Regions from separate parts of the Homo sapiens genome. Here regions 2, 3, 4, 5, 6 and 7 are each linked to region 1. The links are contacts of gene promoters, found by promoter capture Hi-C in blood cells and fetal thymus (Javierre and others, 2016). All regions are on one chromosome and are shown on one strand. The core of a region is centred on a gene start or on the middle of the fragment in contact, and the rest is flanking DNA. Distances in the headings are between cores, read along the strand shown. Region 1 holds the start of DUSP23 (dual specificity phosphatase 23). Region 2 has its middle 11 kb from the start of OR10J1. Region 3 has its middle 5.8 kb from the start of LINC02819. Region 4 overlaps LINC02819 (long intergenic non-protein coding RNA 2819). Region 5 overlaps KCNJ9 (potassium inwardly rectifying channel subfamily J member 9). Region 6 has its middle 32 kb from the start of LINC02819. Region 7 overlaps KCNJ10 (potassium inwardly rectifying channel subfamily J member 10).

The links. The method cuts DNA at HindIII sites, captures the fragments that hold promoters and counts their contacts. A CHiCAGO score of 5 or more calls a contact.
Region 2: a contact is called between a fragment that was not itself captured here and the fragment with the promoter of DUSP23 in region 1, in 3 of 17 cell types (endothelial precursors, M2 macrophages and M0 macrophages). The highest score is 6.9, in endothelial precursors.
Region 3: a contact is called between a fragment that was not itself captured here and the fragment with the promoter of DUSP23 in region 1, in 1 of 17 cell types (M2 macrophages). The highest score is 6.0, in M2 macrophages.
Region 4: a fragment that was not itself captured here is called in contact with the fragment with the promoter of DUSP23 in region 1 in 1 of 17 cell types (endothelial precursors); the score reaches 5.4 in endothelial precursors.
Region 5: a fragment that was not itself captured here is called in contact with the fragment with the promoter of DUSP23 in region 1 in 2 of 17 cell types (naive B cells and non-activated CD4 T cells); the score reaches 5.4 in naive B cells.
Region 6: a contact is called between a fragment that was not itself captured here and the fragment with the promoter of DUSP23 in region 1, in 2 of 17 cell types (M2 macrophages and endothelial precursors). The highest score is 5.7, in M2 macrophages.
Region 7: a fragment that was not itself captured here is called in contact with the fragment with the promoter of DUSP23 in region 1 in 1 of 17 cell types (naive CD4 T cells); the score reaches 5.5 in naive CD4 T cells.

What each region holds. Positions count from the first base shown.
Region 1 is chr1:159,779,539-159,782,619 of GRCh38, reverse strand. It overlaps DUSP23 (dual specificity phosphatase 23), which reads right to left and starts at 1,658. Exons shown (of 2, transcript NM_001319658.2): 1 at 1,253-1,658; 2 at 77-467. The coding sequence starts at 1,519. The coding sequence ends at 282. RefSeq lists an enhancer at 766-1,342 and a silencer at 1,334-1,723. The HindIII fragment of the contact is 4,062 bases long and covers 1-2,884 here.
Region 2 is chr1:159,427,206-159,430,286 of GRCh38, reverse strand. It overlaps a transcript of OR10J1 not described here. Among named protein-coding and RNA genes, the nearest start is that of OR10J1, 11 kb to the left of the region's middle. RefSeq lists a silencer at 554-848. The HindIII fragment of the contact is 3,159 bases long and covers 58-3,081 here.
Region 3 is chr1:159,458,760-159,461,840 of GRCh38, reverse strand. No RefSeq gene overlaps it. Among named protein-coding and RNA genes, the nearest start is that of LINC02819, 5.8 kb to the left of the region's middle. The HindIII fragment of the contact is 2,459 bases long and covers 311-2,769 here.
Region 4 is chr1:159,478,081-159,481,161 of GRCh38, reverse strand. The region is part of intron 2 of LINC02819 (long intergenic non-protein coding RNA 2819); the gene reads right to left. Among named protein-coding and RNA genes, the nearest start is that of LINC02819, 14 kb to the right of the region's middle. The HindIII fragment of the contact is 6,494 bases long and covers 1-3,081 here.
Region 5 is chr1:160,084,517-160,087,597 of GRCh38, reverse strand. KCNJ9 (potassium inwardly rectifying channel subfamily J member 9) reads right to left here. Exons shown (of 3, transcript NM_004983.3): 2 at 2,718-3,081; 3 at 1-112. Among named protein-coding and RNA genes, the nearest start is that of KCNJ9, 4.5 kb to the right of the region's middle. RefSeq lists an enhancer at 2,470-3,000. The HindIII fragment of the contact is 2,152 bases long and covers 375-2,526 here.
Region 6 is chr1:159,496,452-159,499,532 of GRCh38, reverse strand. No RefSeq gene overlaps it. Among named protein-coding and RNA genes, the nearest start is that of LINC02819, 32 kb to the right of the region's middle. The HindIII fragment of the contact is 3,393 bases long and covers 1-3,081 here.
Region 7 is chr1:160,042,724-160,045,804 of GRCh38, reverse strand. The region is part of intron 1 of KCNJ10 (potassium inwardly rectifying channel subfamily J member 10); the gene reads left to right. Among named protein-coding and RNA genes, the nearest start is that of PIGM, 12 kb to the right of the region's middle. RefSeq lists an enhancer at 1-146. The HindIII fragment of the contact is 3,672 bases long and covers 1-3,081 here.

The DNA.
Region 1 (3,081 bases), core at 409-2,908:
CCTGTATCACAGGGCTACAGTGAGGCTGAAGTAAGTTAATGTGTGGGAATGCTTTATAAAGTACCATGCAACGTGCCCTGGTTCGTAAAACTCATTTATTCAACAAAGCAGTACAAGCCTCCCCTTCAATCAGGACCTGCCTGCAGGGGTGGGCTACTTCAGTGTCTTCAGCCAATGGGAGCTAGAGGGTTTAATACTTTAGTCCACTTCCCTTCATCTCTGGCCCCATCGACAACATGGGGAAGGGGAGTGAGGGCCTGGTAGAAGGGTACTAAGGCCCCTTATTTCGTTCGCTGGTAGAACTGGAAGACTGCTTTCTCCTGCTCATAGGTCTCGATGGAGCCGGGTCGTAGTCGTCGGATTTCAGCAATGGCATCTCCTGCAGCCAAGCCCCGCTCCTTCACCAGGTAACAGGCCAGCATGGTGCCAGTGCGGCCAAAGCCCAGAGCACAGTGCACTCCCACAGCCTACGAAGAGGGGGCTCGATGGGTGCCACTCAACTCCCCCACCCACAACTGTTTCCTGCCCCTCACTTGGTTCTCCCCACAGCTCCTTCTTCTGTGCCAGGTCCAGGGCTCTGCAGCAAAGTCAGGGAGGGCTGTCCCTGCACTAGGTGGCTAGGAGGCCTCTGCACTGGCTGGTTCAAGAGCTGTCCACCTCTACACAGCCCTCCACCTGTGGTGTTCAATACAGAAGACAGTAGCCACGGCTACTGTGGCTACTGTACTCGAAATGTGGCTAGTCCAAACTGAGATGTAGTGTGAAAAACGCAACAGGGTATGAAGAGGTAGTAGAAAAAAGAATGAAAATATCTCATTAAGATCACCAAAGTTAATTTTATCTGCTTCCCTGCTTTTTAAGAATGCCGTTGCTAGAAAAATTAACATTACATGGAGCCACTTAGGTTCCATTATATTTGGACAGCTTTACTCTAGAAAATGGTAAACAGCCTCCACCTGACTTCAACCCCCACCTCTCCCAGGTGTCTGTCCACACCCTTCTCCTTCACAACTCACAGTATTAGCTGGTTTTCACTGCCTCTCCTCAAGCCCAGTTCGCACTGCTTCGCCCTCTCTTTAGTTCCTTCCGTTTAGCGCTTCCCTCCCCCGCACTGGCTTCCCAGTCTCCCGGCCCTACTGTCTGCCTCCCCGAGCCCAGTTAAGTTATCCCAGGCCCGGTCTCCCCAGCTCCGCCCGTGTCCCCCGCTGACCTTCCAGGCCCCTCCCTCCCTGCGCTGACCCCGCCCGCTGACCTCTCCCCGTGCGTTGGCCTCGTCCACGATCTGCACGAAGCGGTCGATCTGGTCGGGGGCCGGCGGGCAGAAGTCGGGGATGCGCAGGCGGTGCAGGGTGAGGCCGGGGCAGCTGTCGCTGTGAGGGGGCCCGCGCTCCGTCAGGGACACCAGGTGCCGCACGCCCAGGTCCAACAGGAACTGGTAGTGGGCGGGGAGCCGCGGCAGCGCCAGTCCCGCCAGCCGGCCCGGAAGCACCCAGGAGAAGTTGGGGGGCTGCACGCCCATCGCTGGGAAAGGGCACAGGACAGCGGGTCATGGGGGCCGAGGCTGGCCAGCCCCGCTCCGCCCACGCGTCCCCTCGCCCGCTCCGAGCCAAGTAACTCACCACCTACCTGGCCTCGGCGCCTCCCGGGCCACGTGGTCTGCAGGGCGCCGCCCTCGGGTCGCTCTGCCCAGCCGCGGGGATTGGCCCAGAACCTGGGGCGGGGCTGGAACGCGGAACCCAGTCTCTGAGCGACCGAGGGAAGCGCCGCGATCCCGCCCCGTCCGAGCAGATCACGCGGTGATTGGCTGGATCATCATAATGGGCGGGGGGTTACTTCCACGGGGTTCAACCCACTCAGCTAAGAAGGAAGACCTGGAGCGAGTTAGGAATTGTTTGCTGCGGATGGAACAACCCGGGGTCGGGCTCTGCTGCACCCTGGCGGCATGTTGCAGTCATTGCGTCACTGGCGCCTGCCCCTGCCTCCTCGCGGGCCGGCCTAGTTCTACCTCCTTCACGCTGGATGCCCTGGGGTTTAAGAGATGACAAATCGGCTTTCTCCCAGGACGAGGAGTCTCCTCTCTAATGATTGACTGGTCGTTATCAGCGACTTTTTGAACTGTTCCAGTAAGAGGGAATTACTGCTGCAAGGAGGCTATTCTCATTTTTTCATTGCTGGAACTATTAAAAACTTACCCAGGGTAATAATTATAGTAATAATAATAACCAGCACCAACTTCTCCTGTCAATCCAGTTGCTCCTCAGGACTTATTGAGCATTTATTATGTGCTAGATAGTCTTCTAAGCACTTAGCACATACTGACTCATTTAATTGCCACAGTAATCTTATAAGATAGGTGATCTAGTGAATCCCATTTTATGGATGAAAAAACAGAGGCACTGGAGAGGTTAATAAACTTGACCAAAGGATGATGACTAATGCCTCCAAAATCTTTAATAATATCGCCATTTCCTAAAGTTAAATGGAACATTGTTTTCTCTTCACATAACCCCCTCATGTCCCCAAATATTATCTGGGTTAAACGCTTGTGGGTTTTCTTAATTTTTATTAGTATTTCATATTTCTTCATTTTTCAAGGTTTCCTAGTTCTCTGGGTCACTGTCCCCTGGGCAGGCTAGAGTTGATTAGTGTTGTTCTTACTAGGTGGGGGCCCCTAGATCTGAACACCGTTTCCACTGTCATCTGACCAGTCCATATCCTCATTTGAATAATGTGCTTCTAGCGATGCAGACTAACTGTAATTATGAAAATAGTTAACCCTTATTGAATTTGTTTATGTACCAGGCCCTGTGCCAAGCGCTTTCTGGAAGAACCACATGTGAAAGGTATTTTTGTATCTTTTTTTGTACATGAATCATTGGAAGCTTAAAGAAGTTGGTTAACTTGGCCAAGGACACAGTGATCCAAGCCCAGGGCACTTGGCCATGAGGATGTATTATATTTCCTTCCCTTTGCACCCACCTATGACACACGTCTGACCATTTAAGCCTTTGGCTTCAGCAAGATGGAAAGCAATTTGTCTTCTCCTAAAGATCAAAGCCTGCTCTGACCCTGTGGGAAATA
Region 2 (3,081 bases), core at 388-2,887, 350 kb after region 1:
GACTGGACAGCATTTCAATGAGAATATGCTGGATAAGGCATTTAGGCTTTGGAAGCTTTGCCTTCCTTAAGGCTGGTACCCAGATTATCCTTTCTCGGTGATTTTTTTCACTATTTATGCTTTTGATTCCTAAGTTTTGTGACACAGCTGTATATTCATTTTTTCCACTTGATAATTATCTCAGGAGATAAAAGAGAGAGATGAGGGTCATGAGGTTATGAGATGAGGGCCACGAGGTCACATTTAGTTACAGAACAAGAATCCCTGCATCAAGTCCTGAAATGTGACTTACATATCACTGGGCAGGATGGAGGCTTATTCAGGATTCAGGAGAGTGAGGCTTGAAACTAGAATTTCCAGGACTCCCATTGTACTGTGGCAGACACAGCACACAGAGAATCTTCCAAACTGGAGGACTAGAAATAAAACAGAACCTACCAGGACCTTTCAGTTAATTTATCTCCCTGATCAGTCAGATCTGGGAGTAACAAACATACAAAAAGCAGCACCAGGCTCTCCTGCACCTCCCCATTGCCCTGTCCCTTTAAGTCTGAATTGCTGGCTGCCCAAGAGGACCATTCTCCTGTGCCCTAGGACTCTGGGGTCCCTCTCCCCAAAACCACAGTGACTGTCTGCAAGGCAGCAATAGCACAATCCAAACACTCTGATGTCTGGGGAACTCATTATAAAAGTGACTCATCAACAATCATACAACTAGTACTTCGACAATCTTGGTTTTTCCCACAGGAATGAAGTCTTTGCATCAGCATAAGGTCCTGGACTGCTCCGTGGTTGAAGAGGACTCATGCCTCATGATCGCATTATGGGGAGGGCCTCAGAACCAATCATGTTTAAGGATGCAGCGTCATGAGACAAATCACTCACACTCCAGGGTCTCTCTGTCCTAACTGCTGAAGGACCTACCTCTGAGGTCTCTTCAGTTTGAATGTTGTGGGAACCATGACTCATTCATTTACTGATTTCTTCAGCAAATACTCAAAGAATGTCTCTCACATGCTAGGAACATGGAATACAGCAGAAACTGGGAACACTACACCTGTAGTGTAAGCCAGTTTTGCCTGCTTTGCAGTACCTGGCTACCCCTGTGTGTTACCCACAAAAAGCTGAGCACCTTCTCCTTGAGGAGATCAGAAGGAAGAGCTTTACTGAAGTAATTTCTGTAGCCCCCTCTTTCTCTCTCCAGAACTTAGTCCATCAACTGACCCAACCTTGCTTTCCTTTTAGAAGGTGAGCCCAAGATGGGCCTTTCTGAAGGTTGGAAGAGAATTGGATATCAAATCCCCCAGGATACCCTAAGACTTGGGCTCTTCAGTAATTCCTAGTTCTGGTGCCCAGTTTGTATCTTTCTCTTAAGGACTCTCTAAGTACCAGCATACTGAGAAATAAATATTTGAAAGCAGGACAGTTTATTGTGGTGTCTTTGACAAGCCAAGTAAGCTGGGAGAGACTGACAAGCATGGAAGAGTTGCCAGGCATTCAGTTCAATTCCACATAATCTCTCTTAAGGCCCTCAAACATTTACCCAACAGAAACTGGAAGTACTTGAGCTCATAAGCTATTAAGATCCAAAGTCCCACAGGCAAGAGATGAATTTACGGCATATTTATCACTGCTTGAGAATGGCCAGTGCATAACTTCGTTAGGACTGTTTGAAATCCTTTAGGGAGCAGCTAAAGGAAGGCTTAAAGTTGGGCAGCAAGTCTTATCGAGACCTTGAAATAATCATTAATCTTGGGCCTTTTTTGTCAATGTCTCTTCTTTATAGTTCTCCTGGTAGCTATTTAAATATGTAGCTCTTTGAAATTAGAAATAGAATGGAATTGAAACCTATGAGAAAGAAAAGGAAACCCGATACTGAAATTGTGAACAGAAAAGTGACTGACTTTTTAAAATATAAGTTTTATTGTGTGTTTATCTGAAGAAAGATGGGTTTAGGGAGAAAAGGCTAAGAAAATCTAGGATGAATGTAGGTTTTTTTCTGACAAAGGAGAAAAATGTATTGACGACTACATCATCTGCACATTTTGACAGTTTTCTCTTTTCTGTTCTGATTTTTATCTCTCTCATTTATTTCTCTTCACATTGCATTTGGTTATGAAATATAATATTCAATACTAACACTTATAGATACATTTTTGTCTTTTTTTCGGACTTTAAATGTTTTTCATGTTTTATTAACCATTAAACATGATGCTTGCTATAGATCTCTGGCAGATATAAGGAAGTTCCCTTCTATTCCTGGTTTGTTTGCAAGTTTATCATAAATGGTCTGTTAAATTTTCAGCTAGTTTCTTTTCTGCATTCATTGACATAATCATATGCTTTTTATTCTCTAAGTTGTTAGGGGTGAATTACATTAAGAAATTTTTAAAATATTGGCTCATTCATACGTTTTAACGGAAACCCCTACTTGATCTTTGTATATACTGCTGAATTCAGTTTACTATTTTTTCATCTATCCATTATTGGCCGATAATTATCTTTTCCAACTTGGCTATTTTTGGTATGAAAGGTTTGCAATTAGCAGCCTCTTTAAATGCTGGCTAAATCTCACACCTTTCTATCCTCTGAGCATGATGTTGTTTTTTGTGTCTTTGTTTTTTGGAAAGAGTAGGTTTTTCACTACTAGCGTTTCCTGTTTTATGGGGTTTTTATTCTAGTACATTTTCTATTTCTTGTCTAATTATGGTAATATATCCTTTTCTCCAAATCTGCCCATTTTATATACCTTTTAAAAATAAATTAGTATAAAGTTGTTCAAAATGTGCTTTTATAAGTATTTTGTTCCTCCGTATCTGTCCTTGTATCCTACTTGATAATGTTTCTTGTGTCTCTTTGATTTTTGTTGATCATGGCTGTTAGGGGTTTCATTTCTAATTAATCTCTTCAACTATCCAAACTTAAAAAATAAAATATCTATTTTTTTAGTTTTCTTTATTTTTGCATTTAAATTCATCATAATTATTTGTTTTTACCTTCTCTAGATTTGCTACTCTTTTGGAAACTTTTTGAATTTAAATATTCATTTATTATTTTCCAGTAAATATATAAAGCAGTTCT
Region 3 (3,081 bases), core at 291-2,790, 320 kb after region 1:
CATTCTCAGATAAAAGAAAATTAAGAATTTGTTGCCAGCAGACTTACCCTAAAAGAATGGCCAATAGAAGTTCTTTCTGAATGTCTATGTCCACTCCACCCAGCAGTAATGAGGGGCCCAGCTCCTCCCCTGCTGGGATGGGGTCAGAAGAGGCTGAGTTGCATGTCAGGACTTATATTGCCAGCCGGTAGTAATAAGACCACCCCACTTATAGGCTCAGTGGAAGTCACATAGGAGTGGCAACGAGACATACCTCTCCCTCCCAGACAGGAATGTTCTCTTAAAAAGGAAACAGTACCAGAAAGAAGCTTGAAATATCAGGGAGGAAGAAAGAAAATTGAATGTGAAAATAGAGGTAAATAAAATAGATTTTCCTTCTCTGGAGTTTTAAAAGTTATGTTTGGTTAAAATGAAAATTATATCTGTCAGTGCTATAAGGGTTGATGTGGTTTTAAATTTGTGTAGAGGAAATATTTAAGACAATTATGTTATAAAAGAAGGAGGATAAAGGGATATAAATGGAGGTAAGATTTCTACTCTTTACTCAAACTGGTAAACTGATGACACCTAGACTATGATGAATTTTGTATATATAATACTTACCACAACCACCAAAAATCTATACCAAAATCTACATCTAAAATGAAACAGAAAAATCAAAATGGAATTTGAAAATATGTCCATGTTACCCATAGTAAGGCATGAAAAAGAGAAACACAAAAAAACAGATAAAATAGAAAAGAAATAAAATAGCAGATTTAAGTCCTAGCATATTAATAATTACATAAAACATAAATGGTCTAGATATACCAAATCAAAACAGATTGCAGAGTGGATGTCATAACATGACCTAAATATATGCTGTCTAGTAGAAATTAACTTTAAATATAGGCAGGTAGAAAATAAACAAATGGGAAAGAATAATCATGCAAGTATTAATTAAAAGAAACCAGGATTGGGTATATTAATATGAGGTAAGGTAGGCTTCTGAGAAAAGAAAATGACCAGAGAAAGAGAGAGACATAATATGATGATAATCCTACAGCTAACTTTGTACTTAATGGTGAAAGACTGACTGCTTTATCTATAGGTTTGAAAATAAGGTAAATATGTCCACTTCCTTTTATTAACACAATGCTATAACTAGCCAGCACAATAAGGCAAAAAGAGGAAATAAAAAGCATCCTGATTGGAAAAAAAAAGAAATAAAATGTCTTTCTTTGCAGAAGACATAATTGTCTATGTAGAAATTCCAAGGAGTCTACAAAAATCTCTTAGAACTAATAAGTGAGTTCAGTCAGATCATAAAATATAAGATATACCTACAAAAATCTATTGCATTTCTATATACTAGTAATGAACACGCAGGCACTGAAATTAGTAGCAAAAAGCCATTTACAACTGGAAAAAAAGTGAAATAGCAGTAAGTATAACAAAATATGTATAGGATTTGTATATTCAAAGCTATAAATGCTGATAAAAAAATCAAAGATCAAAGTAAGTGAAGAGATATATGTGTTTATGGATTGGAAGACTCATATAGTGAATACATTACTTCTTCCTAAATTGATATATAGAAATAATGTAATTTCTATCAATATCTCAGAATTTTTTTGTAGATATAGAAAAGATTATTCTAAAATTTATGTGGAAAAGCTAAGGAACTAGAATAGTTAAAATAATATAGGAAAGAAAGAGTAAAGTGAAGAAATAAGTCTACCAAATTTTAAGGCTTATTATATATTTATAATAATAAAGATTGTTAAGTATTGGTAGAAAGATAGATAAACAGATCAATAGGACAGAATAGAGAAACTAAAATAGTCACAAATATGTCCTACTTATTTTTTAGAGAGATTACGAAGTAATTTGATGGAGAAAGATAGCCTGTTCAACAATTAATGATGCTAGAGCACTTAGAGATTCACGGGCAAAAATAATAATAATAATAAACTTCAACCTAAGTCTCATATCTTATATAAAAATTAAGTCAAAGTAGACTACTCACATAAATATAGGCAGGATTCTTTAAACTAAAATTATGATCCATGAAAAATATGATAAATTGGGTTTCATTAAAATTTAAAACGTCATCAAAATTTAAAATGTTTGACAGCTTATTACTTATAATACTGAATAGGATTCCATTGTGTGGGTGTTCAACAGATTATTTACCTTCTCACTTATTGAATGACTTCTTGGTTGACTCCAATTTTTACAGACTATGAAGAAAGCTGCTATAAACTTTTGTATGCAGATTTCTTTGTGGACAAAAGTTTTTCATCATTTAGATAAACACCTAGCAGTGTGGTTGCTGGATCATAGGGCAAGAATATGTTTATCTTTGTGTAAAACTGTCCAACTCTCTTCCAAAGTAGCTATACCATGTTGCATCCCAACCCTTAATGATTGAGAGTTCCTACTGTACCACATCTTCACCAGCAATTGGAGTTGTCAGTGTTTTAAATTTTAGCCATTCTAATAACTACGTGGTGGTATTTCATTGTTATTTTAATTTTCATTTTCCTAATAAGAAATGATGAACATTTATTCATGTGCTTATTTGCTATCTATAGATTTTTGATGATGTTGCTATTCAGTTATTTGGCTGATTTTTAAATTGGGTTACTTGTTTTGTTATTGTTGAGTTGTAAGAGTTCTTTGTACATTTTGGATACAAGTTCAATTTCAGTAGCTTTCAGTTCTCTAACTTTGTTCTGTCCAGTATTGTGTTGGCTATTCTAGATGCTTTATCTTTCCATAAAAGCTTTAGAAGCAGTTTGTCAATATTTACAAAATACCTTGCTGAGATTTTGATTAGAATTGTGTGAATCTGTAAATCTGTTGAGAAAAGATGCTATCTTTTTTTTTTTTTTAATTATACTTTAAGTTTTAGGGTACATGTGCACATTGTGCAGGTTAGTTACATATGTATACATGTGCCATGCTGGTGCGCTGCACCCACTAACTCGTCATCTAGCATTAGGTATATCTCCCAGTGCTATCCCTCCCCCCTCCCCCTCCCCCACAACAAGCCCCAGAGTGTGATGTTCCCCTTCCTGTGTCCATGTGTTCTCATTG
Region 4 (3,081 bases), core at 242-2,741, 300 kb after region 1:
TCATCTTTGCTTTTTAAAATTATGGGACCGTCTTCCTCCTTTTGACTTTGATGCACAAATCTTTCTATCTTTGCTCCATCTAGATCTACACAGATGTCTCTAAGATAAAATAACCCATCATAATTAATTCACTAGAAGTCAGGGGACCTGGGCTTTGCTTTTGAATTTTTCAGTTTTCATTACCAGACAATGTGATCTTTGGTACTATTAATCACTTTGAATCTTATTTTTCATGTTGGTTGCAAATGTAAAAATCAATTAGACCTAGCTTAAGAAAAAGAAAAATTCATTGTAAATTGTAGCAGCATCCCATAAAACTTAAGTGCAAGAATGTAGCCACACCTTAAGAAGACATTAGATGATGAAGTTGGGAAGTTTTAGCACTCTCTCTCACTTTTTTGTCTCCATTTCTGTCTGTAATCTATTTACTTCCTTTTTTTTCTGTTCAGATGGCTATTTTCCTCACAAAAACTACCAATTTAATGTTATAGTTTAATCTACATGGACAGTTTCTTTTCATCTTTCCCCACCACTTCCTGACTCTCCTGTTTCATTTTCTTCTCTACATTTTTACTTCCCAATTTCTACTTCTTTCCTAGTTCCAAATTCCTAAATGAGGGAATCAGAGTGATCTAACTGGGATTTGATAAACTTCTCTGATTCTACCAACTCTGATCAAAGATAGGGTCACATTACAAAGAGATAAATTTTGAGAATTAAACAATATGGATTCAGAGTAAAGGCAGTTACAGTGAAGAAAACATTTGGAGTTTGACAGGTTCACAAAAAATGTGTACCACATTTCTCTCCTATAAAATGGAGCTAACACTTTCTGCTATGCTCACTTTACAATTAAAAAAATTTTTTTGAGGGTCATAGCAGACATTGTGTTTAAGAACACATTGAATATTATTACACACTTGGAAGAATTGTTTTGAAGTTTTATAGTGCTAGATTTGGGTTCCGAACAAGTGGCAGACCTGATCTTGATGAAAGAAAGAAGATAATTCATCCAGTTGTGAAGTGGATAAAGGTTTTCTAAGAGCTCATCACCATGACTCCCAAAGTTTTGATTGTCTTCATAATGATGGGAAATCACAATTTCAGGAATAGGAACAAAGTTTTTGTGAGAGTTAGGAAGAATCCAGAGGTGCAAGGTGTAAGTGGTGATGTTTGTGTGTGGAGGTAATCCTTCCAAGTTTATCCAGACAACAATGGCAAGAGTAAGAACTGAACTTAAATACTGATGCACTTAGACATGGAAAATGCTGAACTTTATGTGTAATGATTTGTCAGTTATTTATTATATGATTATTTATTTTCTGACAGGTCATAAAAGCAGGATACATCATTGACAACAGAAGTAATTATCAGTTTTAGAATAAAAGCAAAAAGATTCTTAGGTTTCTTGGGGCACTATAATACAGTGTTGATGTTGGGAGGAGTAAAAGAAACAGGTATATCTTTTAACAGGTTGGTCAAAGAGGTTACATGTGTTTTTCAAGAAGGTTGTCAGTTGGAATTATTGTTGCTTCTGCCCTTATTCCAATGGGGCTGGTACAGCAATAGTGCCTACTTTTCCAGGCTTTGAAGCATGTCTGCATCAGGACAGGCCGACAGTCCTGGAAAGGGCACAGAGAGAAGCCTGGAGTGAGCTCCTGGAGTGAGGGAAGCCTGGACTGTACTTAGGGAGATTTGAGTTCTTATTCTCAGGATCTTCTTTCTGTCCCTCCTTTTACTGTTTCATTAAAACAAACAAACAAATGAGCAAACAAACGAAAAACCCCAGCTAGCCAAATTCCTGTAGTAGACCTGGTGGGAAAAGTCAAAGAGGTTATCCTAAGACTTTACATCTGCACCAGCTGAAGAAAATCTCAGACGGCACATGTGAACCAGGCCTGGTCATCAGACACTGGACTTTATTTGGGGACAAATGTATGCAATTTCCTGGAGTGTAATCTGTGCCGAACATGCCCTATTAAGAATTTATAGCAGGAGACAGCTGGCCAAAGATTTGGGGTCCTGGCTTTCTACTATCACTGCTAATATGAGGCACATAAGCAGGTGCTCACTAAATAATAAATTAATGAACAGTCTACTGAACATGTCCTTTTGCAATATGGCACTGAGAGTCATCTGTCTTATTTTATGAAGCATCAGTAGTTTCTGATTCATACTCTGTGAAAATGGCAGTGTTCCCCGGAGGCAGAAATGCACAATTTTTCCTTGGCAGTTGAGAACACCACTACATTGCTTGTCTTCAGTTACAAATGGAGAGATTAGTGTTGGCCATGAGAGCAGACTCTTCTTCCCCAAAGAGGGTCACAGGGCAACAGAGGTAGAATAAAGATACAGAGAGACATTTGGTTAAGAGGAGAGATTTGAAGGAACACATGTCAAAATGCCTTAATATTCCTGGTAAGGTAGGATACCAAGTCACTGACTAAGACTGGAATGAGTAGGGCTATAGTTGGTGATTTGGAAAAGCCACTGTGTTGAATGTGATATAAGGCAAAAACATACTCACTTTCTTCAGATATCTGTATATCTCATATTTCTGTGGTTTACTCAGGTCTCTACTCACATGTCGCTTTTTTACAGAAGTCTCACAAGCCCAGCCCATTAATAAAAATGCCTCTGGCCGGGCGCAGTGGCTGACGCCTGTAATCCCAGCACTTTGGGAGGCCGAGGCGGGCGGATCACAAGGTCAGGAGATCGAGACCATCCTGGCTAACACAGTGAAACCCTGTCTCTACTAAAAATGCAAAAAAATTAGCCAGGCGCGGTGGCAGGCGCCTGTAGTCCCAGCTATTCGCGAGGCAGAGGCAGGAAAATGGCGTGAACCCGGGAGGCGGAGCTTGCAGTGAGCCGACATCGCGCCACTGCACTCCAGCCTAGGCGACAGAGCCAGACTCCGTCTCAAAAAAAAAAAAAAAAAAAAAGCCTCTGTATTACCCTTGCTCTGTATTATTTTATTAAAAATAATGTGTGACATTATATTTGTATATTTATGAATTTGTTTATGATACTTCTCCCTACCAAGAAGAAACCTTCATGAAAAAAGGTAACACTTTGTTTCAT
Region 5 (3,081 bases), core at 201-2,700, 310 kb before region 1:
CTGGCATAGTCCACTTCGTAGAAGCCGTCCTCCAGAGTCAGCACTGACGTGAAGCGGTGGCCCCACAGCACCTCGTCTACCAGGTAGGAGCTCCGAGCTTGGCATGTCATTCCTGGGAGGAGGGGCACCGGTCAGGGGGAATCTCAGCTCCAGGCTTCCCTCTCCTCTTCTCATTCCACAACCCTACTCCCAGCACCCTCCCTTCTATTCCTTCCTAAGGGCTCCCACCTCCCTTTGGTCCAGTCCATTTCCCCCCCTCCCTAGCTCCTGTTCTTACCCAGCTCCCTCGTGTCTTCTCCATTTGCCCCAACTCCTCTTAATGTCCAGCTCTTTTTTCCCCTCCTGTCATTTGGTGATGCCAACCAAAAAAAGCTTAACCTTGAAACTAACCTTAGGGATCCTCTAGTCCAACTTCTCACTCCATACAGGGCTCCCCAAAGGAGCATTTCTAACAATGGGCATCTAGCTTATACTTGATTACCTCCCAGGATTGATAGCTCACCACTTCATAAAGGGCCCACTCCTTTGTATGATAGCTCTAATAGTTGGGTTGTTCTTTATACAGAGCTAAAACCTGTACCCTGGGATTTCCAACTCTTGGCTTCATTCCCCTCCCACTTCACAGTCCTCTGAGTATCTGAAAACAGGAGTCTCAGATTCCCTCATGTTTTCTCTCTTGACTTAACATCCCTGGCTTCCTCCACGATTCCTCATTTGACCTGGTTTTCCAGAACTCTACTTTTTTGATTACAAGCCAGAATGGCCAAGGAGGGCCCTTTAAGCATTTTGAGTATAGTAAATTTTCCAACTGTGGCCTGCTCCGTGCATAAGAGAGCGCGCACCATCTCTCTCTTCTGGCCATGATGCTTTCACTAATAGGGCCCAGGATAACATTACATAATCATTTTGGAGGCTGCATCACATTGCTACGACATCAAGACTGTAGCCAACTAAAACTCCCAGTTCTTTTTTCACCAGTGCTCTTCCATGCTGTGCTTACATAAGTGATTTTTTTAAAGCCTAAATGTAGAATTTTATATTTATTCATTTTAAATGTCATCTTGCTGGGTTTTGGCTCATTATTCTTGCTTTTCAAAAGCGTTTTGAATCCTGACTGTCTCACCCAAAATATTACCATCCTTTCCAGCTTTATCTCTCTAGAAAAACAGACAGATTCCTATCCTCATCTCCTCTGTCCTGGTCCTCCCTGCCCGGGGCTTGTGTCCTATCTTCCTGTTGGGCTGGTGCACCCCTCAGGGCAGGTCATTCTCCTTTCTGCCACAGGGTCTTGCCCCCAACCCATATCCATCTCGGAACAAGGGGAAACAGAAGAGTGAACATTAGCTAACCGGAGAGTGGCTGTCAACTCGGAAAGCCTGGCGCTGAGACATTGGTATTCCTCGGTGAAGTTGGAATAGAAAGTATCCAGTGGGAGAGAAGAGAAAGAGGCATAAGGGACACTGGGGAGAGAAGGGCTTCGAGGAGGAGAGGGCAGGGCTGGGGGTACAAAGAGAAAAGAGGGCCGGGCAGCAACTTCCCTGGAGGGTGAGGGGCCTGCCTGAGATACTGGCAGAAAAGGAGTGACAGCTGGAGAGAGAGGAAAGGGAACGGGGTGAGTGGGGGAAGAGGAAAGAGTCGGGGTGAAGCAGGAATGGGAACAGTGATGCGGAGCTGGGGTTGGGGTGTGAAGCGGAGTCTCAGCCTAAAGGGGCCAGGGAAAGGATCTGAAGGCACCAGCTTGTCAGCGAAGCCGGCAGGGAGCATCAGCAGCTCTGGCGTCAGAGGAGGGACTGCGGCGCCCCCTAGTGGGCCTTTGGTCCTCCACCCGCAGTTTCCTCATCCTCATCTATCCTCTAGATCTCAAGTCCTAAGTGACCTCCTTTGCGACTCCTGTAACACTGGTCTTTTTTCACCTGCTCCCAAAGCCTTCACTGTGTAGGTCTGGGTTGGACTTATTGACATCACAGATGAGTTGCCAGTTCCTTTTGGAAAAGAGCTAGAAAAGGTAACATCATCTATATCCCTTGTCAGTGGAAATGGATGAATTGGGAAACCGAGGTACAAGTGAGACTAGGTATTAAACTCCCCTCAAGATCCGGCCTAGAAATAACTCAGGCAATGGAAAACCTTCACCGTCAAATTCCAGGGGCCTGAACCTGACTGCAGTGAGAAAACCCCTGAACCTAACCCCTCCTTCCAACTCGGGACCACTAAACATTGAAGCCACATTGCCTGTGTCCAATCCAGGCATGGCCACTTATTGGCTTAGGAAAGTGGACAACTTCCTTAATTTCTCATTGGAGCAATCTCATCTCTAAAAAGTGAGCACAATAACAAGAAGTTACCTTCAGAGGGTTCTTGTTAGGATTAAATCGACTCAGAGGTAGAAAGTGCTTTGGAACTGCGCATGACACAGGGTGAATACTGGGCGAGCACTAGCTATTATTACTGTCCCTATTCCAAGTGACACATTCCTCTGGGCCCAGGGCCCCACGCCAGTGCCATTTCGGAGAATTCCTCCAAGCTTTCTCTTGGCCTTCTGCGGCGTTGCTCGGTTCCACTCCCGCCTCCGACCCCTGTCTCACCTCACTGTCTCATCCTCCACCAGCCCCTCCATCCATCCTCCCCAGCTCCCCTGGCCCCTAGTCTCGCCCCTGCCTTCCTCGGTCCCGCCCACCCTCTGCCAACCCCGCTCCCCTCCCCAGGCCTGCTCGCACCCGTGGCTTCCACCATGCCCTCGAGGATAACGACGATCTCGAAGTCGTCCCTCTCGAGGGCACGGCGCGACGCCTCCCAGAAGGGGCTGGCGGCGTCGATCTCGTGGCTGATAACCAGCGGCGAGACGAGGAAGAGGCGGTCGTCTCCCGTGTCGAAGCCCACGCTGAGGTCGGTCTGGTGCAGCGGGATGAACTCGCCCTCCAGCGTCTGGCGCGAGCGGATGAGCTTGGCGCGGATGGAGGCCTCCACTATGTGTGAGGAGCGCAAGTCGCCCACGCGGAACATGAGGCAGAGGCGCCCGTCGCGCAGCGACACCACGGCGTGCGAGGAGAAGACGAGCGTGGCTGCGCGCTTGTTGGGCTG
Region 6 (3,081 bases), core at 213-2,712, 280 kb after region 1:
ATGTCTCATGTTTTGGGAGAGATATGAATATGCAGATACATGTAGCTTAAAGGATCCTAATTAGATTCAACTCAAAGAGATCCTCTCCAAGGTACATTATAATTAAACTATCAAAAGTCAAAGACAAAAAGAATTATAAACACATCAAGTCAATATGTAAGTGAACCACCATTAGACTATAAGCAGATTTTTCAGAAGAAACCTTGCAGGCCAGGAGAGAATAGGATCATGAATAGGATGACCTACTCAAAGTGCTAAAAGAAAAAAATCATCATCTAAAAATACTATACTCAGCAAAGCTATCTTTCAAAAATGAAGACACAAAATTCCAGACAAGTAAAAGCTATGGAAATGTATCACTGCTTGTATTAGTCTGTTCTCATGCTGCTGATAAAGACATTACCTGAGACTGGGAAATTTCCAAAAGAAAGATGTTCAATGGACTTACAGTTCCACATGTCTGGAGAGGCCTCACAATCATGGTGGAAGGCAAGGAGGAGCAACTCACATCTTACATGGATGGCAGCAGGCAAAGAGAGAGAGCTTGTGCAGGGAAACTCCCCCTTATAGTACCATCAGATCTTGTGAGACATATTCACTATCATGAATAAGTGATACTGCTGAAAAACCTGTCCCCATGATTCAATTACATCCCACTGGGTCCCTCCCACGACACATGGGAATTTAAGATGATATTTGGGTGGGGACACAGGCAAACCATATTACTGCTATACTGACCTTACAACAAATGATTAAGGGAATGCTTTAACTGGAAGTGAAAGGACTTTATTACCATTAAATCACAGAATATAAAACTCACTGAGAGAAAAGCTCATAATCAAATTCAGAATACTGCATTACTGTGATAGTGGTATGTAAATCTTTCAAATGTCTAGTATGAAGGTTAAAAATCATCTACAATTACCAAAACTAAATACACTGTTAAGAAATACACAACATAGAAAGATTTTAATTAAGGCAACAAAATGAAAAATTGTGGGGAAGAGGGTAAAAGTCTAGAATATTTGTATGTGACCAAAGCTAAGTTGTTACCAACTTATAATGGTATTTTATAGCTGTAATGTTTTATGTAAACCCAGAGTAATTTAAAAAATTACAGCAGATACACATATGAAAAAGAGAAAGGAAACAAAACTTATCACTAAAGAAATCACTAAACCACAAAGGTAAACAACAAGAGAGGGAGAAGAACAAAAGATCTATAAAATAACCAGAAAATAACTAGCAGAATGACAGTAGTAAGTTTTTACCTATCAGTAATAACCTTGAATGTAAACTGATTAAGTTATCCAATTAAATGATATAGAGTGAGTGAATTGATAAAAAAGAAAAAAAGACCCATTTAGATGCTGCCTGCAAATGAGTCATTTTACCTGTAGGACACACATACACTGAAAGTAAAGGGATGAAAAAGGATATTCTATGGAAACGGGATAAGAGATATTTCATGCAAATGAAAGCCAAAAGAGAGCAAAAGTAGTTATACTTAGATCTAGACATTAAGTTAAAAAAGTAAAAAGATGCAAAGATGGTTATAAAGGTGTCAATTCAACTAGGGGACATAACAACTATAAATTTATATGCATCTGACACTTGGATAGTCAAATATATAATGCATATGTTATAAATCTAATTAGAGAGATAAACTGTAACATTTAATAATAGTAGGGGACTTAAGCACCCCATGCTTAGCAATGGACAGATCATTTAGAAAGAAAATCAGTAAAGAAACATTGGATTTCAAATGGACTCTATATAAAATGAATCTAAGAAACTTTTACAGAATATTCCACCCAACAGCTATAAAATCCAGTCTTCATCAGCACATGGAATGTCCTCCAGGACAGATCACATGTTAGGCCATAAAACAAGTCTCAAAAAAATGTAAAAATATCTTAATCATATCAAGCATCTTTTCTGACCACAGTGGGATAAAATCTGAAATTAATAACAGGAGGAATCTTGAAAACAAGCAACGTATACAAAAATTAAACAATAGAGTCCTGAATAACAAATGGGTCAGTTAAGATATTAAAAAGGAAATTAAAATTTTCTTCAAACAATGAAAATGAAAATACAACATACCAAAGGCTATTAGATACAGCAAAGGCAGTTATTTGAGGAAAACTTATAGCAATAAATGCATACACCAAAAATTTGAAAGATATCAAATAAACCACATAATGTTGCACCTGAGGAATTAGAAAAACAAGAACAAACTAAACCCAAAAATATTAAAAGAAAAGAAATAATAAATTACACTATAAAATTACAAAAGATCAATAAAACAAAGAGTTTTTAAATGATAAACAAAACAGACATACCTTTAGCTAGACCAAGTAAGAAAGAGAGAAGATTAAAATAAATAAAGTTAAAGATGAAAAAGTAGACATCACAACTGATATCAAAGAAATACAAAGGATTGTTAGAGATTATTATAAACAACTATATGCCTATAAATTGGAAAACCATTAACAGAAATTGATAAATTCCTAGACACATACAACCTACTAAAATTGAATCATGAAGAAATAAAAATTCTGAACAGATCAATAATGAGTAAGAAGATTGATTCAGAAATAAAAGGTTTCCCACCAAAGAAAAGTCCAGGAGCTGATGATTTCAGTGCTAAATTCTACCAAACAGTTAAAGAAGAACCAATACAAATACTTTTCAAACTATTCTAAAATATTAAAGAAAATACAAAATTTATTGTATAAGACCAGCATCCCTTGGTACCAAAACCAGACAAAGACACAACAGCAACAAAAAAGGAAAACTACAGGCAAATTTCTCTGATGAACATACATACAAAAATACTCCACAAAATACTAGCAGATTGAATTCAACAACACATTAAAAAGATCATTCACTATACTCAAGTGGAATTCATTTCAGGCATGCAAGGATGATTCAACACACACAAATCAATAAACATGATGCATGATATTAACAGAATCAAGGAGAAAAACTGTCACTTTAGTGGATACAGAAAAAGCATTTGATAAAATTCAACATCCTTTCATGATAAAAACTCTCAGTAACTTAGATATAAAAGGA
Region 7 (3,081 bases), core at 390-2,889, 260 kb before region 1:
ATTATATCTTTCTGATTGTCTCTTCTCCTGAATCAACTTCCCTATTTCCTTCAATCATTTCTCATGTGGTCTGGTTCTGAATCCTCTCATATCCTGAGTGTTCCTTGATGCTGGATACTGCAGGTGTGGGATGAACAGAGCAGAGTAGAATCAACTACTTTTTTGTTCTAGGGACTTCAGTTCAACTGAAGGAGCTTAAGATTAGTTTGCTTTTTTGGCAATCAAAACACATGAATAACTCATATTGGATTATTTTCTGCTAATATGTTTAATTTTTTTATATTGTACTGCTTTGCTAAATCACATCTTCTCAATCCAGAACTTGCTCAGGTAATTTTTGGACCCAAGTACATAATCCAGCACTTAACATTTTTGTTAGACTTGGCCTACTTATTTGACTCCTTTTGGATCCTAATTCTGCCCCAGCTCTTGCATTTGCTATCTGTCCCAGCTTTCTGTCAGGCACACAATTGATGGCCATAGCATTCTATAGTTTTGAATGAAGTTCATGTTAAGAAAATTGAATAGGGCAAGGCCAAAGATGAAGCTCTCTGGTGTATCAATAGAAAATGAATTCCAGGCTATCATGGTCCCCTCACCAGTACCACTGATTTTTAAAGTCACCGAATTAGATTAGCATTCTCTTCATTTTTCTTTATCTTATCCCCAGGTCATAATGAGAGATCTTGTCAAAAATCTCCTGAAGTTTAGGTACACGTTCTCTGTTGCACTTCTTCGATTTGTCAATTTAGTAGCCTTATCATAAAAGAAAATTAGGTTATTATTGTTTTTGAGACAGGGTCTCATTCTGTTGCCCAGGCTGCAGTGCAGTGGCATGATTATAGCTCTCTGCAGCCTCCAACTCCTGAGCTCAAGTGATCCTCCTGCCTCAGCCTCCAAGTAGCTGGGAGTACAGGTGTGTGCTACCATATCCAGCTAATTTTTAAAAATTTTTGCTGATATGGTGTCTTGCTGTTTCCCAGGATGGTTTTGAACTTCTGATCTCAAGTGATCCTCCTGCCTCAGCCTCCCAAAGTGCTGGGATACAGGTATGAGCCACCACACTCAGCCAAAATTAGGCCATTTTGATGTGACTTGTTCTTAGTAAATCCACACTGGGTCCTATTGATAACTTCCTTTCCCCCATCCTACCTAAGTACTCGTAATCTTAATATTCCATTCTAGAATCTTGCCTAGGATCAATATCTTACCTGTTTGTAGTTTGTGAAAGGTACTTCATTTTTCTTTTTGAAAATTAAAACTATGTTCATTCATCTCTAATTTTACAGCACTTCTTCTGTTCTCATTCCTCAAAATCTTATAGGAGTTTACATCTTTTTTTTCAAGAGTTTGAGGATCAAATGAGAAGGTATTCTAATGTGTGAATTCTAAAATGGTATATAGATACAGGCAGTATGGTTGTTATGTTATTATTACTACTACTGAGTACTAAATAGGGCTTTGTTTAGGCTTGAAATACAAATTCTTCAAACTTCAGAGTTGCAGAGCTTCCTTTTTGTTCCAAAGCAGCCAAGGATATAGGGGAGTGAATGACATCCAGGTCTGGTTGAACAGTCTTGCATGAACGGAAGTTCCAAATGGCCTGTGACACAGGGCTGGTAAATTGGGCATCCTTGTTGCCTCTGAACATTCTCAGGGTTCTCATCCATTGGTGATCTCCAATTCAGTGCCTACCTGGTTGGGCATATGGTCAGGCCCAAAAGATTTGAAGTTTTCCAGGGACAAGGCCATGGGGAAAATAGAGATGGGGGGTGGGGTGGGCAGTGTGAAGAATCATAAAATGCAATGGTTCAGACTTTTTCGAATGGAGAATGTAATGAGCCTCTCCAAGAAGGGCTAAACTCCCCAGAGATCACCCTGCTCCACAGAAGATCTGGCTATCAGATCCAGGGTCCAAGGGCTCAAGTGATTAAAATTCTTTCTGTGCTGGAAAAGTACAAGTTACTGCTTGGGCAAGGGTGCCAGGCACCTTGTATTAAGTGAATTGTCTCCTATTTCAGTGGCTTGCCCCACTTTCTGCTATCAGAACAAATAGCAATACTGAATTTGAGCCTGTGCAGACATAGCTGCTAGTTAATATACACCCCTAGCTCTTCTACTTCATTCTGTCAAAACAATTTTGCCACCCACAATCTGGCATTTCTGCCAGTCCTTCAGAAAATGTCCCAGTGCTTCCAGGAAGTTTTAACATGTTGTTTCTCCTCCACCACTGCTTATTTCCTTTTGTTCAAGTCCCATCTGTACTCTTCCTAACACTGCCCTAGACTCTAACTCAGACCAAATTTCCCCAGATGATGCAAACAGATGATGATGATGATGATAAAAAATGAAATGGTCTGGGTGCTTAGGGAGCATCTTGAAGGGTAAAAGAATGGGTAGTTTCTGCTATTCTCTGAACCAGATGAGTATCTTAGTATCACCAGTGGGTATTGGCTTGGGGGTAGAGCAGAGAATGAAGAAATTAAGGTTGTGTGTGTGTGTGTGTGTGTGTGTGTGTGTGTGTGTGTGTGTTTTAAGGGGGATTGGCCTGGAAGGATTTCAACAGGATAGCTTGTCTTGCTTCATAGCCATTCATAAGGGTGGGGATGGATCCTATTTCAAAATTAGAGCTCTTCGGAGGACTGGTTTTGTGGTGAAGGCTCTCATTAGTCTCACCCTCACCTTCAAGGAATGTGAAGCTACTACTCTTTCTTTTCTGCCTCTCTTCCGCTAAGAATTACAAATATCAGACTGTGTTGCAATTATTTGCTTACTAAATAGGCATCTTTCTCACTAGGCTGTGAGTTCTTGGAGAGCAGAATGATGTCATTTTATTTTATTTTATTTTATTTACTTTTTTTTTTTTTTGAGACGGAGTCTCGCTGTGTCACCCAGGCTGGAGTGCAGTGGCGCGATGTCGGCTCACTGCAACCTCTGTCTCCCGGGTTCAAGCGATTCTCCTGCCTCAGCCTCCTGAGTAGCTGGGACTACAGGCGCATGCCACCATGCCCAGCTAATTTTTGTATTTTTAGTAGAGACAGGGTTTTGCCTTGTTGGCCAGGCTGGTCTTGAACTCCTGAC